Regions from separate parts of the Homo sapiens genome. Here region 2 is linked to region 1. The links are contacts of gene promoters, found by promoter capture Hi-C in blood cells and fetal thymus (Javierre and others, 2016). All regions are on one chromosome and are shown on one strand. The core of a region is centred on a gene start or on the middle of the fragment in contact, and the rest is flanking DNA. Distances in the headings are between cores, read along the strand shown.

Evidence for each region. The method cuts DNA at HindIII sites, captures the fragments that hold promoters and counts their contacts. A CHiCAGO score of 5 or more calls a contact.
Region 2: a contact is called between the fragment with the promoter of LINC01549 here and the fragment with the promoter of C21orf91 in region 1, in 2 of 17 cell types (M0 macrophages and M1 macrophages). The highest score is 7.2, in M0 macrophages.

Annotation. Positions count from the first base shown.
Region 1 is chr21:17,813,687-17,821,617 of GRCh38, reverse strand. C21orf91 (chromosome 21 open reading frame 91) reads left to right here and starts at 2,262. Exons shown (of 5, transcript NM_001100420.2): 1 at 2,262-2,315; 2 at 3,293-3,426. The coding sequence starts at 3,300. The region is part of intron 2 of LOC124900465 (a long non-coding RNA gene); the gene reads right to left. RefSeq lists an enhancer at 1,568-1,617 and a silencer at 1,868-2,647. The HindIII fragment of the contact is 2,618 bases long and covers 198-2,815 here.
Region 2 is chr21:17,434,977-17,442,907 of GRCh38, reverse strand. LINC01549 (long intergenic non-protein coding RNA 1549) reads right to left here and starts at 4,018. Exons shown (of 4, transcript NR_037586.1): 1 at 3,911-4,018; 2 at 1,065-1,234. RefSeq lists an enhancer at 3,806-4,389. The HindIII fragment of the contact is 14,439 bases long and covers 1-7,026 here.

The sequences.
Region 1 (7,931 bases), core at 1,013-3,512:
ACTGATCCCCAGCGTTGGAGGTGAAGCTTGGTTGGGGAGTGGAGAGCAAGGGGTTGGAGCTTAGTTATGGATCCCTGATGAATGGCTTGGTGCCATTCTCTAGGGTGTGAATCAATTCCCACTCTTAATTCCCAGTGGAACTCGTTTTTAAATAAAATAAAATAAAAAATAAAAAATAAATAAAGAGAGAGCAAGCTTGGAATTTCCTCCCCTCTCTCTCTTGCTCACTCTCAGGCCACATGATCTCTGCACATACTGGCTCTCCTTTGCCTCCTATCATGAATGGAATCAGCCTGAGGCCATCACCAGAAACAGATGCTGGCACCATGCTTCTTGTACAGCCTCCAGAACCATGAGCCAAATAAACCTGTTTTCTATATAAATTATCCAGCCTTGGGTATTCCTTTATAGGAACACAAACTGACTAAGACGAGCAGTGAAAAGAAACCACTGTTACAAAATACCATCGTGAATCTCAAAAACATGCTGCATGACAATAGCCAATCACAAATGAACACACACTGCTTAATTCTATGTATATGAATTCCTATAACAGACAAAACTAAAACACTTCGTCATATAAATTAGATCCCATGTTGAAGGAGCTTGACCAGAAAGGAACAGAAAGAAATGTCGGGGCTGTGGAAATGTTCTGTATCCTCACTGGGGTGGTGGTTACTCAAGTGTATGTATTTGCCAAAACTCATCAAATAATGCTTTTAAAATGGAAGCATTTTATTTCTGTAAATTATTCCTTGATTTTTTTTAAAAAGCCAACAACAAGAGAGAAGAGTTTTAAGAATAGCAAGTAAACAATGTGAAATGCCATAGGAAGGAAGACAATTCTGAGAAGTGAAAATAACTTGTTTCAATTTTTAAATTTTAGTGATTTTAGAACACTTTTATTGAATCACTTTAAAAGAGTCCTTTTTAAAAGAATGCTTTTTATTGAAAAGATGGGTAGAATCCAACATGCAAGGTATCTTAGTCGTAGTTACCTAGAATGAGAAATTCGAAGAGAAAAAGCACAGGCTTTTCATTTCAATTAGTGCATCTCAAACTTCGATGAACATAGGAATCTCCTGGCGGTCTTGTTAAAGTGCAAGTATTGATTTAGGAAATCTCGAGTGGGGCCTGAGATTCTACATTTCTAACAGGAAACCAAGTAATGTCAATGTTGTTTGTTCATCTACTACAATTTAGGTGGCAAGGACACAGATCGCTCCTGCGAGGCACAAATGCCATAACTGGAGTGCTAATTTGGCCCAGAAGTTTCCAAGATCTAGACAGTCCATTCCTAACCATCAGTTCAAGAATGCCTACATGTAGATTGACAGGCTAGCCCTCTTTCTATGTGAGTGCAACCAGAACACATACATATGATGCTGTAGAAAATAACATTGATCTTAGGTCAGTAGCCTTCGGTTCAAGTCCCAGCCTTTTTCTAACCAACTGTGATAACCTGGGTCAATTACTCGTAGGCTGCAACATGAGAGAACAGTTCCTGTTTCTCCTCTGTAGGTTACTGTGAGGACTACAATGGAAAATGTAAGTGAAAGTACTGCAAGAACCATACCCTAAAAAAAACAGAATAGCTTAAACAAAAGTCAAGCAAAGAATTTGAGAACCAAGCAGGACCTAAAAATAAGAGGTGGGGCTTCGGGATTTTTCCCGTGGGCGTTGAGGGATGTACCATATTGGGGGCAGGGGCGCCCCACAACAAATAATGTATTTGAAAAGATTCTGTATTTGAAATTATGCCTCTATCATGACACCTGAATATGAACTTTTCCTTCGTTAGATACTTCAACTGGCACTTAACTATAAGTTCAGTGACAGTATTCTGCTTCTTTCTCCTGAAGTCAAAGTGCCACCCACGCACCTCTCCCGTTCTGCCATCCACCCGCGGCTTTCCTACCCCCGCCGCCTGCGGCCCCCGCCCCGGGGCAGTAGTTTGCACTAGGCTGAAGGGAGAGGTGGAACGGATTCGTCTATCTACGCACCTCGAGGAGGGGTGTGTGAGGAGCTACGTTCCAGAGAACGGTAAGAAACTCCGGCCAGGAAACACGGGATCACAGGAGAACTCGAGGCGAAGGTGCGGCGTCGGTGCAGGAGCGGAGGGGCGGACCCACAGCAGCCCGGCGAGCGCGCAGGTGTGCCCGCGGCCGCGCCACCCTCCCCGCAGCCTTTACGGGATGGAGCCGGCGGGAGAGGGCGGGGCCAGGCGCGCGGCGGCCGCCTCTGCTGCGGCCGGAAACAATAGTGGAGGAACCCGAGCCGCACGGAACGGCGGTGGTGGCCCGCGGAGCCGGACGGTAAAGACCCCGCAGCCCTGCTCCCATCCCACCTGAGCCCCGACCCCCAGTCCCATCGTTCCGCCTCCTTCGAGTTCCGAGCCCCGTGGCCCCTCGCGCTGCTGCGCGCCAGGCGCCCCGACGGACAGACCGACGGAAAGACGGACTTGGGTCCGCGACTCCCTGGGGGCGGCCGCGCGCCCCCAACGCCGAAGGCCGGGCCAGGACCCGGCTCCCCGAGACGCTGAGGCTGGGCGGACCGGCCGCCGTGGCCCTCGGACGCTTTCTTCCCTCTGGGAGGAATCCCGGAGCGATGGGACGAGGCTCTCCCGCCCGCCGGGCTCCAGGATGCCGCGGCTCTCCCAGCTCCGGCTTGGGCCCCTCCGGCGGTGCCCGGCCGGTACCGTGAAGCCGCCGCTCGGCCTTCGGTGTAGTTGCCCCGGACACGGCGGGACGCCCTCCCCGGGTATTCGGTACCCACGTGCATTTTGCTGCCGCCGATCTCCGTTCGATGCGAAGCTTCGCAACTCCGAGTTCGCGAGGCGCATCTGAGGTTCCCCCAATGAAGTTAGCAAAGCAGTGTCCCGTGCAGGTCGTTTTTCCTGTTTCTCACAGCGTTAACTAGGTTGACAGAACCTGGTAGCTGAAAAGGCCTCGCTGCTAAGCCCTCTGATTATTCGAGGTTGGGGGACGAAGGAGGAGGACTAGAATGCCGGCAAATCTCTTTCCTTCAGGTGCCACTAACCCAATCAACTATAGGACAAAAAAGACACGGACATAGTGTCACCTATGGCCTGGCTTTAAGTTTTACTAGCTTTGTGTCTTTCCACAGGAAAAGTGCAATGTTGGAGTGCAAGTATGGCGATGCTTGTTTGATGGAGCTTTTGCTTTAAATGAGCTGAACAGCATCCTTATTTCCTAGAAGTTCCCAGTAAAGGGAACTACCCCAAAGGCAGGTTCATGAAATTGTGTAACTTTCCTTTTCTGTTTCTTAATAGGGGCACTATGAACGAAGAGGAGCAGTTTGTAAACATTGATTTGAATGATGACAACATTTGCAGTGTTTGTAAACTGGGAACAGACAAAGAAACACTCTCCTTCTGCCACATTTGTTTTGAGCTAAATATTGAGGGTAAGGACACAGTATAGTTTTGATCTTATGGAATGAATTTAACACAGCTGCTTTGTACTGATTGTAAGGTAAAACTAAAATGTCTTCAATGATTGGAAATTGTGCTAAGTATGAATAGTGTAGAGATTTGTTAAAGATAAGGTTTCTGGAAATGAAGGTGCAGTTAACAGAGTTACGAATTTAAGAGAAATCTTTTTTTTTTAAAGACCCCTGCAACAACCCCATTTTTCCTAATACAGAAATAAGTATGAGTGTTGACTGGGAAACGTGTTTTCTGGTTTGAGAGCTTATTGAATTGTCAGATTTTAACAGACCTGTGTGTTTTTTATATTAAGAAGTAACATAACAATTTTTTTATTCTTTCGAGCCTATTATGCAAGTATTTGAGTGAGATGAGCCCGAACTCTTTTCTCACCAGTATGATCTTATTATCTGGAAAAATACTTTAAAATTTTTAGATTAACCTCTTTTCAGTGATCACACACACTGTTGGTAATTTTTAAAACCTGAAAAGGTTTTTAAAATTTTTTTAATAATGTCCCTAAGATATATGAAGAAAAATTCTCCAAATCCAAAAAGAAACCCCAAAAAAAAGCCCTATTGGAAGGATTTATTTGGGTTGGTGCAGTTAGTGTTGTCATATTACAATTGATTTTTGGTTTAGATATTTATGAGTCATACTAAAAAAAACCTTAATATTCCTGCAAAAAAAATTTGGCCTGTAATTTGAGTTTTGAGTTGTAACATATCAGTAGAGAGACTTTATTAAACCTCTAGATTTTGGACAGTTTCAAAATAGTTCTTTCCTTTTTTCTGTATTATATATTTGAAATTTTTCATGATCTTTATTTTCTGTTTACTAAGTATGGGGTATGAAATGTTCTTATTGTTTAAAAAAATATAGTGGGGGATTATATACCTTGAAATTCCTGTTAGGACTTGTTATTCAGAAATTATTATGGTCACCAAACAGTATGTGATGGAAGATTATGGATTTCTTGTGGATTACATAGAATATCTATAACTTCAGCTTTAATAAATGTAGTGATTATAGCTAATTTCAAAAGATGACATAACAGGAACAGTGGTGTGTTCCTACAATCTCAGCTACTCCAGAGGTTAAGGTGAGAGGATTGCTTGAGCCTAGGAGTTCAAGTCCAGTTTGGGCAACATAGCAAGACCCCATCTCTAAAAAATTAAATAAAAATAAAAGGATATCTTAAAAATAAGTTTCTTTTACAGTACTTAAATCATGCTGGGGTGAAAATCCAAATTTATGTTCTTTGGAAATAGAGTTGGCTTGTATATTGTTGATACATTGTAGAATTTTAATTTTAGATGAGTAAAGACATTAGAAATTATCTAGTCCAAACCCTGTATTTTACATTTAAGGAAACAGCCAAAAAGTTGGACTGCCCAGGGTTGCTGTAGTGGTGATGGCAAGCTGTTGTTATGTGCCAGGCACTGTGCTAAACCCCTTATGTGGATTATCTTATTTAACTCAAGATAGCTTTGGAATGACTACTGTCATTTTCTATTTTAAATGTGATAGAACTGAACCTTGGCGACCTAAGAAATACAGTTTGAAGTCACACAGCTCATAACTGTTGGTCCTGGACTTTAAAGCCTGGCAGTCTGGTTCTAGTATATGTGATCTTAATACCATTGATCTACTGTCAATAGTTATTTTATAGCAATAGGGCTGATGTTCTAATCCTAATTGGTTATCCTTGCTATTCTCTCAGCCAGCTTTTTCTAACCAGTGTTTGCTGGCAAATCATCATTAATGGAGTTCATGCCATGATCGAATTTTTCCACAGAACCCTAAATTTTCGTAATTGCTTTTCTAGCTTTTTAAAATAAGCCTTTTAACTGGTTCTCAGTCATTATATAGAGAATATACAAATATTACCTTAGGTACCATCTCTTAACATTTCAGCTCTGATAATATCTCAGCATGTAAGCATGGAATAAGTCCTTTGTTTTTGAAATCATAGTTCCCTTCAGTGTAAAAGACAATTCTCAATTTGAATTAGAACTATTTCGTTTAATATTCTATGTATATTCAAGGTTTTATATATTAAAATCCCAATTTAATCTTTGTAAGAAAAATTAGAGTCAAATAATTTCTTCTCTATCTGGTGTCATTTCTCAGCTCTCACAAATACGCATTTTCATTTTCACTACAGTGATCAGCTAGTGTATTACAACTTTTTTGTTTAAGATTTTTGTAGGCCGGCACAGTAGCTCATGCCTGTAATCCCAACATTTTGGGAGGCCAAGGCAGGCGGATCACCTGAGGTTGGGAGTTCGGTACCAGCCTGACCAACATGGAGAAACCCCGTCTCTACTAAAAATACAAAATTAACCAGGCATGGTGGCACATGCCTGTAATCTCAGCTACTCAGGAGGCTGAGGCAAGAGAATCGCTTGAACCCAGGAGGTGGAGGTTGCAGTGAGCTGAGATTGTGCCATCGCACTCCATCCTGGGCATCAAGAGCAAAACTCTGTCTCAAAAAAAAAAAAATTATTTTAGAAAAGAGGAGGGAAATGAGGATCTTGAATTGCACAAAATTTTAGTTTTTATATCAGTATACGGGTCTTTAGAAATCAGTGGGGGAAAAAAGTCATAATAATAATTACATACTAGAAAAATAACAAGGTATATTTGTTGTCGGTAAATCTTTTAAAATATTTTTGAAGTTTTCTTTCCTCTACCAAGTTCCCAACACAATGCCTGTCAATAGACTAGAATGTAAGAGGGGCTTTTTAAAAATGACATTTAACTTTACTAGTTTAGTGTAAATTTTTTGTAGTTTGGTAGTATTGCAGTTGCCTGATTTCTTAGCTTTATAATTGCTAGCTTTGGTCTAAAGCACTCTTCTCCGAGAAGAGGCTGAGTAAAAATAAATTCTCTTGAGGAATAATAACAGTTAAGCTAGTTTTGAGTCCATACATTTGTAGTAAACAATAATAATATTTTCTACTTTTTGGATTGTTGCTTACATCAAATCAACACTGGTTTCCTAATCAATTAGCCTCTTGTTTAAAAGCTGTGTGCATGCATACGTTTATAAAATGAAGACAAAGGAAGGAAGAAATAACAAAAGACAATCTAATCTTGTTGAACAGATTTTGTACTGTGGGCATGGCTCTAAGTTGGCTTTTTCTCTGACTTTACAATAATGAAAAAGAAAGAGGAGCCTACATTTTATGTACTTCCAAGCCACAGGTGATATGCTTTAAGGACCTGAGAAACACACTTTGAGGACTCAGATATTTTTTAATGTTCACAAGGTTGATTTTTTTTTAACCTATGCTTCACCATTTGATATGGTTTGGATCTGTGTCCCCACCTAAATCTCATGTTGAAATGTAATCCCCAGTGTTCTAGGCAGAGACTGGTATTAGGTGATCGGATCATGGAGGCGGAATTCACATGAATGGGTTAGCACCATCCCCTCAGTGCTGTTCTCATGATAGTCAGTGAGTGAGTTATCATGAGATCTGGTTGTTTAAAAGTGTGTAGCACCTCCCCCCCTCACTCTCTTCCTCCTACTCTAGTCAGTTGAGGTGCTGGCTCCCTCTTTGCCTTCTGCCCTGATTGTGAGTTCCCTGAGGCCTCCGCAGAGGCTGATGCTACCATGCTTCTTGTACAGCCTGCGGAATTGTGAGCCAGTTAAACCCCTTTTCTTTATAAATTACCCTGTCTCAGGTATTTCTTTATAGCAGTGCAAGAATGGACTAATTCACCATTAAAATAAATTGTCTGCTTCTCAGATTAGAAGACAGGTGCATAAACTTCCTAAATACTTACAGCCTTGACCCTAAGACACTATGAACTTTTTCATACATATTAGTGATCAAATACTCTAATATGCATCATAGTTCAAACTGCTAAAATCTCTAAAGATATTTAATGACCAACTCACTACCATTCCCTAAGGAATGGCAAAGAGGAAGGCAGCCCAGGGTGGTCAGGAGCTAGTAATGAAACTCAACTGTAAGGTAACAAAGCCCAAAGTGAGACCTAAGCAGGAAGAGATCCAGGGTTTCAATACTGTTGGTTCATACTATCAGTTTTCATCTTGTGCCAAAATAGTGTACAAATAATTCTTAGAGCATTTCTCTCTTCCTATAATTGGCTTGCTTTCTTTTCCATAGAGGAAAAAAAACCTTTTTTTTTTAAGCTAGCTTAGCTTTGTTTAGCTTTTTTTCCTTTCTTCATTTTATTAAAATAAGGGTTTCACTATGTTGCTTAGGCTGACCTTGAGCAATTCTCCCACCTCAGTCTCCCAGGAAGCTGAGATTACAGGTGTGTATCACCTTACACCTAGCTAAAACTTTTTTATAAGATTGGACCAATTCCTGTTACACAGGTTGAGCATTCAAAATCAAAAATCTAAAACTTTTTGAACACCTACATGATGCTCAAAGGAGATGCTCATTGGAGCATTTCAGATTTCAGATTTTTGTTATTTGGAATGCTCAACCAGTAAGTATAA
Region 2 (7,931 bases), core at 2,769-5,268, 380 kb after region 1:
TGACATTTCTCTCATGTGGGTGTGCCAACTCGTGCAGATGACAATTTTATAAATGTGTGTGCTCCTGTGAATTAGACTGTTATAGTAACATTAAACTGCTAAAGAACTTCACCTACTTTCTGGATTTGCAAGTAAATAATTTGGCTATTTTTTTTTTCAGTCTAAAGGCAGATAGCTGATAAGCTACATGAATTGGCCCAGTGGATTAAGTAATTTTTCATAATGCCTGATTACTAGTTTCTGAGAGTAGGATATCTAGAGAAGGAGTTTTTGGGGGAGATAGGAACAGAGGCTGATCAGTTTATTTCTTTATGCTTTGACCTCCTCTAAGAAAAATGCTGGCTGCTACAAAAGTTTCTATCTTAACATTTTTCTGCAAGTTTGTTATTACCATTTATGAACTCCCCATTTCCCACAGAGGAAGGAAAGAATAGACAGAACTGAGTGATAAACTAGACAAAGGGAATGGCTTAGTAGGACATGGCTTCTGCCTTTTGTGTTTCCAGTATTTGTCTACTGCTAAGGAAATCAGTATGTGGCACATAACTGGGGCAAAGGATTCAACACTCAGCACTTCGAGCAAGAAGTCACCATCATTAGCATTATTGTGGCAGCTACAAGGAGACGCCCAACAATTTACTGCAAATGACATAAAATAGATACACTGACTCCCAGCTGGATTTTTACTATTTTTGTCCACATTCTGAGGGCTATCAAAATACTTTTTAATTCACTTCCAGACCATCCCAACTTCTACAATGACTCTTTCTCTCTACAACCAGCTAAATTTAATTTCATTATGATTTGCCAAAGGTTAACTGAGAAAAGTAACAGCCAAGAATTAAGAAAACAGGTATAACATGAAAGAGGGAAAAAATCATTTATTTTGAAGGGTGGCCTGACCAAGCAACATGGCTCCAGAGTGGAATGAAAGAGATAAAAATAGGAAGACGATTGGGTGAAGCAGAAAAAAAAAAAACAGAAGCAGTAGAAACAGATCAATGAGAATGTGTTTCTAGAGCCTATTATGTTTCTGAAGTTGAAGTGATAAACATATTGCATACCCTTTGTTCTAGAGACCTTTCAAAGGACAGAATTCCTTTTCTCAAGCATTGAGCTCTCTCCATCTTTAGAGTCTTTTCAGTCTGTTTCACACAGTGTCAGAAGAAGGTTGCCTCAAAAGTTGGTAGAATTACTGTAATTCCCTCCATGACAGTAGTAAAGTTGGATCCTGCTGATTAGAGCAAAACACAAAAGCTCACTTCCAGAGAACTGTGATCTTCTCATAAAACAGTTGGCATCGCCTGAAAGGGAGGTATTGTTGGTAGGTAAGCCAATGTCCTAGGGCCTGGGACTCAGCCAGCATCTCATGTAACAACCATGCTGCCTATCCACTTTTGTTTGTTTTCCCAGACAAAAATGATTGCAACACATTTCAGAGCCAATGCAAAAACTCTGCCTTTGTAATATGCTGACTTGCTGTCAATAATTAGATGTTCTAAATTGCTACACTAGACAATGAGGTCCAACTTAAAAAAAAATACAAAAACCCAGTTAAAAGCTCAATTGGCCAAGAGGTTATTTCTGCAAAATGATCACCAGTGGTTTTTTTCTTTTCTTTTATTTTTTGTGGGGGGCGGGTGTGGAGTAGATGAAATGTGTCCAGAGAAGAAAAAAAAATCATACTTCTGTAAATATTTTCTTAACTTCCTTTTGCCAGGCAGCTCTGGTTTAGTGAGACATACACTAGGTTAAATTTCAAAACACTTGGATACTAACTGTGCTACTTTGGAGCAAGCCATTTAATCTCCCTGAGGCCCAGATCATTCATCTATAAAGTGAGAATAGTAATACTTCGACTGACCACGTCACAGTATGATTAAATATCCAATGATATATTGTACATGAAAGCATTTATCAACTGCAAGTCATGATACTAATGTGAGGACTGTAGAGTTGCCTTTATTTTCCTCAGAGCAGATTTAATTCTGGGGTGCTGGAGAGAAGTAGGAGAGGTTCAGCTCCAGCTCTATCTCATTTCCCCACGTCTGAGAGGCTGGAAGAGAAAGGAGTGGATCTTGAGTTGGCAACTCCCATTTCTCCATCAGCAGAAAGAGAAAACTGGTTTTCAGGTTTCCTCCTACCCCATGAAGTAAGAGTCCCTTCCTCTAAATATTAAAGAAATTTATTAACTATCTAGATTTTCCTTGACTTTTGCTTCTTTATCTAGGCTATGTTGTTCAATATGACAGCCACTAGTGATTTGTGGTTACTGAACTCAAGAAATATGGTTAATCAAAATTGAGATGTGCTGTTAGTGAAGAATACATGCCAGGTTTTGAAGATAATAGTCCAAAAATACCTGAAAGAATGTAAAATATCTCACTAATGTTTTTTATGTTGATTTCACATTGTAAAGATAATATTTTAGATATATTAGATTGTACAAGATATGTTGTTAAAAATAAATTTTATGTTTCTTTTGACTTTTTCAATTGTAGCTACTATAGTTTAAAATTTTATATTTTATATCACTTTATATGTCTTTTTTTTTTTCCAAGATGGAGTCTTGCTCTATTGCCCAGGCTGGAGTGCAGTGGTGTGATCTCGGCTCACTGCAACCTCTGTCTCCCAGGATCAAGCGATTCTCCTGCCTTAGCCTCCCGAGTAGCTGGGATTACAAGTGTGTTCCACCACTCCTGGCTAATTTTTTGCATTTTTAGTAGAGATGGGGTTTCACCATGTTGGCCAAGCTGGTCTCAAACTCCTGACCTCAGGTGATCCACCCACCTTGGCCTCCCAAACTGCTGGGATTACAGGCATGAGCCACCGCACCCAGCCTCACTTTATATTTCTATTGGATTTGGACAATCAGAGAGGAAGGAAAAACCCGAGTCCCCAGTAGCCTTATTTCATGCCTCTTTCTTTCCATTTTTCAGTCTCTCTCCACCCTCATGCGTTCCAGGTATTGGGAAGTCAATTCTTTTGAGACAAACATCAAGAAACCAAAGAAAGATCAATAGGAAGATCATTTCATCACATTTATAGCACATGGCACCAAATAGACAGTCAGCATCCATTCAGTCAATCAATCATGCATTTAATTAAAATGAAGAATACAGAAATTTGGCAATCTCATGTCCTGAAAAAACAGATACACTAGGAATGAGTAATTTCTCTTTTCACTCTTACAAGTTCTGAAAAGGAGGAGATACTATGATTAGGCTATGAACTATACTGTGTATAGTCACTTATTAAAATCTTATTTTATATAATGGCTATCTGTAGGCATTTAAAAAAAACTCCCTTCTAAAGGTCTAGATATCTTGAGGTCAATAAATGTGCTCTGTATCCAATAAGTACTGAGCAAATGTTGTTGAATATAATGAATAAAATAAATGATATAATCAGTCTATCACTTTATCTTTCTAACCAAAATTAAAATTTGAAGCTAAAATGTTGTATGGTTGATTCGATGATGATATAGGCATTAAAACATGAGTTGTGCCTTAAGGTATGCTTTGCTTTTATCTGATAAAACAATCTTATTTAAATTTTTTTTTTTTAAATAATAGAGACTGGGTCTCAATATGTTGCCCAGGCTGGTTTTGAATTCCTGGGCTCAAGCAATCCTTCTGCCTCAGATTCCAAAAGTGCTGGATTACAGGTGTGAGCCACCACACCCAGCCAAAAAAATCTTATTTTTAAGTCACTTCAAAAAGTAACCCATTTGAGAGTGAATAAATTCTTCCCAGATTAAATCCTGGCTGATGAAGAACACTTATTCCTAAAATAAAATCCCCATCCATTTTTGTCATCTCAGCAACCATCTAAAAATTGTCCCAGGAACAAACTGATTCACCCTATATGAAATAACAGAATAACAGAGAAGAACGATAATCCCATTAACCTGGTAGATCCGGAATGAAATGCAGCTGGAGGATGGAGCAGATTGGAGGTGGGAACAGGGAACACTCAGCAGGCTCCCAGCCCCGAACACCCCTGGAGTCTCAACAGCCTCAATCCATCTGGAAGGGAGGGCTTGGGGGAAGGGCTGAGCATGGCTGCAGGGATCAAAGCTAAGCAGGGGAAAACAGCTAGAGCACTGTCTGCTCTTTGAGCAAAGATAATAGAGTCCTCTCTGTGGTGAAGAGAATGAACACACAGGAAGATTTAAAAACACAACAAACCCGGAGCCGATCAGATTCCTTTATTCCATACCTCAAACTCATCAGGCTTGTCCTCAATTCAGAGTCTCTCTATATTGAATTACAGGGTTAGAAAAATAAAGGGCATCCCATTGAGTGCTTTTCAAACAGTGGGTTGCCACTCTTTAGTGTGAGAGAATCAATTCAGTGGGTGGAGGTTTGCATTTAGAAACTGAAATAAATTAGAATGGAAAATAGAAGGAATTGCATGGAAAAGGGATAAATATTGTTTCATGAATTTTTTGGTGTGTGTGTGTTTGGTACAGGTAAAATACATCTTACTGTAGGCATTAGCCAAACTGTGAAACTGAAAATTAGTCAACTCTATCTCCCTCCCGTATTATTATGGGTTATTAAAATCAGTTCTTCAGGCCTTCAGGAATAGGCTTTTTAGAACCTCCACAGCTAATTCTCTGTTGAGGTATTCCTCCTGCATTCTAGAAATATAGACAATGTCACAGACTCAGTGCAAACCATCCTGAAAAATAGCTCCAGGATCAGGCATTGCATTATGAGGAAGCTAATACTGTTTGTCAGAATCTGAGGGCAGCCTCCCTTTAAAGACCCTAATTAAGGAGAGGGAATGAAGAAAAAATGGTAATAGCATGCCTCAAATGTGAGGCTGCCTCTTGGCCACTATTCATTAGAAAGCCCACAAACTGTGGGCTCTATTTAAGGAACGTCTGGGATGGTTTTGGGCGGGGAAGCAAAACAGACCCAGTCAAATACTTCCCCTTTTATTCTCAACTCTGTTGTCAGCTTACTTTTCTCACCTTGATTTATTTCTTGAAATTTTAGTCAAATTCATTGACAATTTGCCTTATGATTCACAAAGTAGATGAGAGTGAATAGAGAAGCGACCTGACAGAGAAGAGAGCAGGACTATTTAAAAGATTCTGGCAAGAGGTGAGAACATTCCTCGATCCACTATAGAAAACCACCAGTGATCAAACAAACACAGTGAATTCCATTTCTAGGTCTCAAGGAATTAAGCATAACATTCAAAGTTGACTAGATAAAGGAAAGATTTATTATTACTATTATTTTGAGATGGAGTTTCACCCTTGTCATCTAGGGTGGAGTGCAGTGGCCGGATCTCGGCTCACTGCAATCTTCGCCTCCCGGGTTCAAGCGATTCTTCTGCCTCAGCCTCCTGGGTAGCTGGGATTCCAGCTACCCGCCACCACGCCGGGCTAATTTTTGTTTTTGTAGTTGAGAAGGGGTTTCGCCATGTTGGCCAGGCTGGTCTCAAACTCCTGACCTCAGGTGATCCACACGTCTTGGCCTCCCAAAGTGCTGGGATTACAGTTGTGAGCCACTGCGCCTGGTCAAGGAAAGATTATTAATGACAGACTTCATTGCGTTCTGCAAAGCTGAAAGGCAAGGAAAGAACTGGGGGATGGAGGGGGGATTTCCCTAAAAGAAGTCCTAGTAAAGTTGTATATCAAGAAAAAGGCAGATATCTTCATATCCAGACACAAAAGAAAGTTCTTAAGGTTTTACAATGGTATGGCCACTAACACAACCTTTCAAAGAGGAGCAAACGTCCTTATCGCCCCAAGAAATCAAAGTAAACCATGTGAAACCCAAGTGTAGGAAATCCCGCTGCTCAGATAAAGTATCCAGTGTAGCACTGAAACAGCACTATTGCTTTCAGGCAGCCTGGCTTAACCTTGAGTAAAGCCTTTCCTGGGAGTTCAGCTCAGTGAAACAGACATTCTGTCAACTGTATCAGAGACAAGGATTTTAGCTGTAATTATGGTCTGCTAATCTGGTGCAGCTTTAGTTAAACAAACAGAATCAGCACATTATCATTAGGGAGGCAACATAGTTTTCTCTCCCTTCCACAGAGCATTGCTCTAGGAGAGAGACGACTATTGAAAAGTTTGGCTGCTGTTACCAGTTTTACTTCTATCTAATCTTTTAGGAGCTCAGTTTCTCCAAATGAAGAAATGTGTGGCACCCTCCCATCTCAGGATTGCCGAAAAAACACAAAAAAGGCAGTGTTTAAACATGTCGTAACTGGGCACTGAATTGTTCCTGATGAGTCTGTACTGTTCTGTCCTTTCTCTCCCACCATCTCTGGGAAACTGGAATGAAATGGGTCTCACTGCCTACTTTTTTGTCTTTTCTTCCCAGGCCCTTCTCTCCTCTGGTTAACCCGGTCTGAAGACTTGGAGACATCTGTCATATTTTAGATACAGAGGAGTATTCCATCTTAAATGGTTGCTTTCAGAGTACTAATTCTTGGCCTCCCTCCCCTGCCCCAGTAAAGAATATCTTATGGTGGGAAATTCAGTTTGCTGAAAGCTGGATATTAAACATAATTTTGAGATATAGCTCAGCTAATATTTCCTTCGAATTATGCCATGACAGCAAAACTTGCCTCATTTACGAGCCCTTTAATATGAAATTGTCTTCCTCCTTCCCTCCCTTTCTTTCTCTTTTTCTCTTTCCTCTCCTCCCTCTTTCCCTCCCTCCCTCCCTCCCTCCCTCCCTTCCTTCCTTCCTTCCTTCCTTCCAATATTTCTGCATGTCCACCATGTGCTAGGCTATCTCTAGCACAATCTCTCCTCCAGACACTCACTTTAGTGGGAAATGTAAATATAAAAATTGAAAACATATGTTATTTTAAGTGTCAAAAGACAAAATTACAACAAATTTAGTTATAGATCAAAGATGGGCATTTATTTGGGATTTATAAATCAGGGCAGCCTTCATTCCATAAAATGTACTGAAAGCTCTCACGAGCAACTGCTGAACAGTGGGTTTTACAAGGTGGGAACAAGGAAACAGAACAATAGAAAAAAAAAAAGCTTGACTGGTAAACATTAGGTTACTTCAGGTTACTTTTTTATATGAGTTTAAGCAAACGGAAGTGTCCTTATTATAGCTGACTCAGACTGCAATCTCCAGTTTTCAGGAAAAACTGATCTGTTTTGAGATCTATCGACTTCCTTAAAGTTTCATTTTGATGAAGTGGCATTTAGCACAAGTGACTCCATTTTGGTCTGGTCTGGTCCCTTGGGGCCTAGTGCAGAAGCTCAGTCCAAAACAATAGTGTTCCATAATGCTGTTTAACGTAAGAGATGTTTGAAAGAGGTACTTCTGGCCAGGGCTTGGTGGGCCAGAAAATACTTTTTGGTGAGATCTGAATTGAATCTTCAAGGGTTTGTGGGCCTAAAGTGCAGGCGAAGGGATACTGTAGACAGAGGATGGCAGAAGGAGGAATGGAATGAGAAAAAAGATGATTTTCCAGAGACTATGTGTGATGTGACTGAGTAGCAAGGGATGGGCTGAAGAGGCAAGTAGAGTCATTCTATTGTCTTGTGATCTTGCTTTTTATTCTAGAGATAAATGACTTTTTTTCCACATAATTATAGCAGCAGACATTTTTCCCAAATTAAATTTTATATGGCATTCCGGCTGGGTGTGGTGGTTTATGCCTGTAATCCCAGCACTTTGGGAGGCCGAGGTGGGCAGATCACCTGAGGTCAGGAGTTCAAGACCAGCCTGGCCAACATGGTGAAACCCTGTCTCTACTAACAATACAAAAAATTTAGCAGGGTGTGGTGGCATGCACCTGTAATCCCAGCTACTTGGGAGGCTGAGGCACGACAATCACTTGAACCTGGGAGGTGGAGGTTGCAGTGAGTGGAGATTGTGCCATTGAACTCCAGCCTGGGCAACAAGAGTGAAACTCCATCTCAAAAAAAAAAGAAA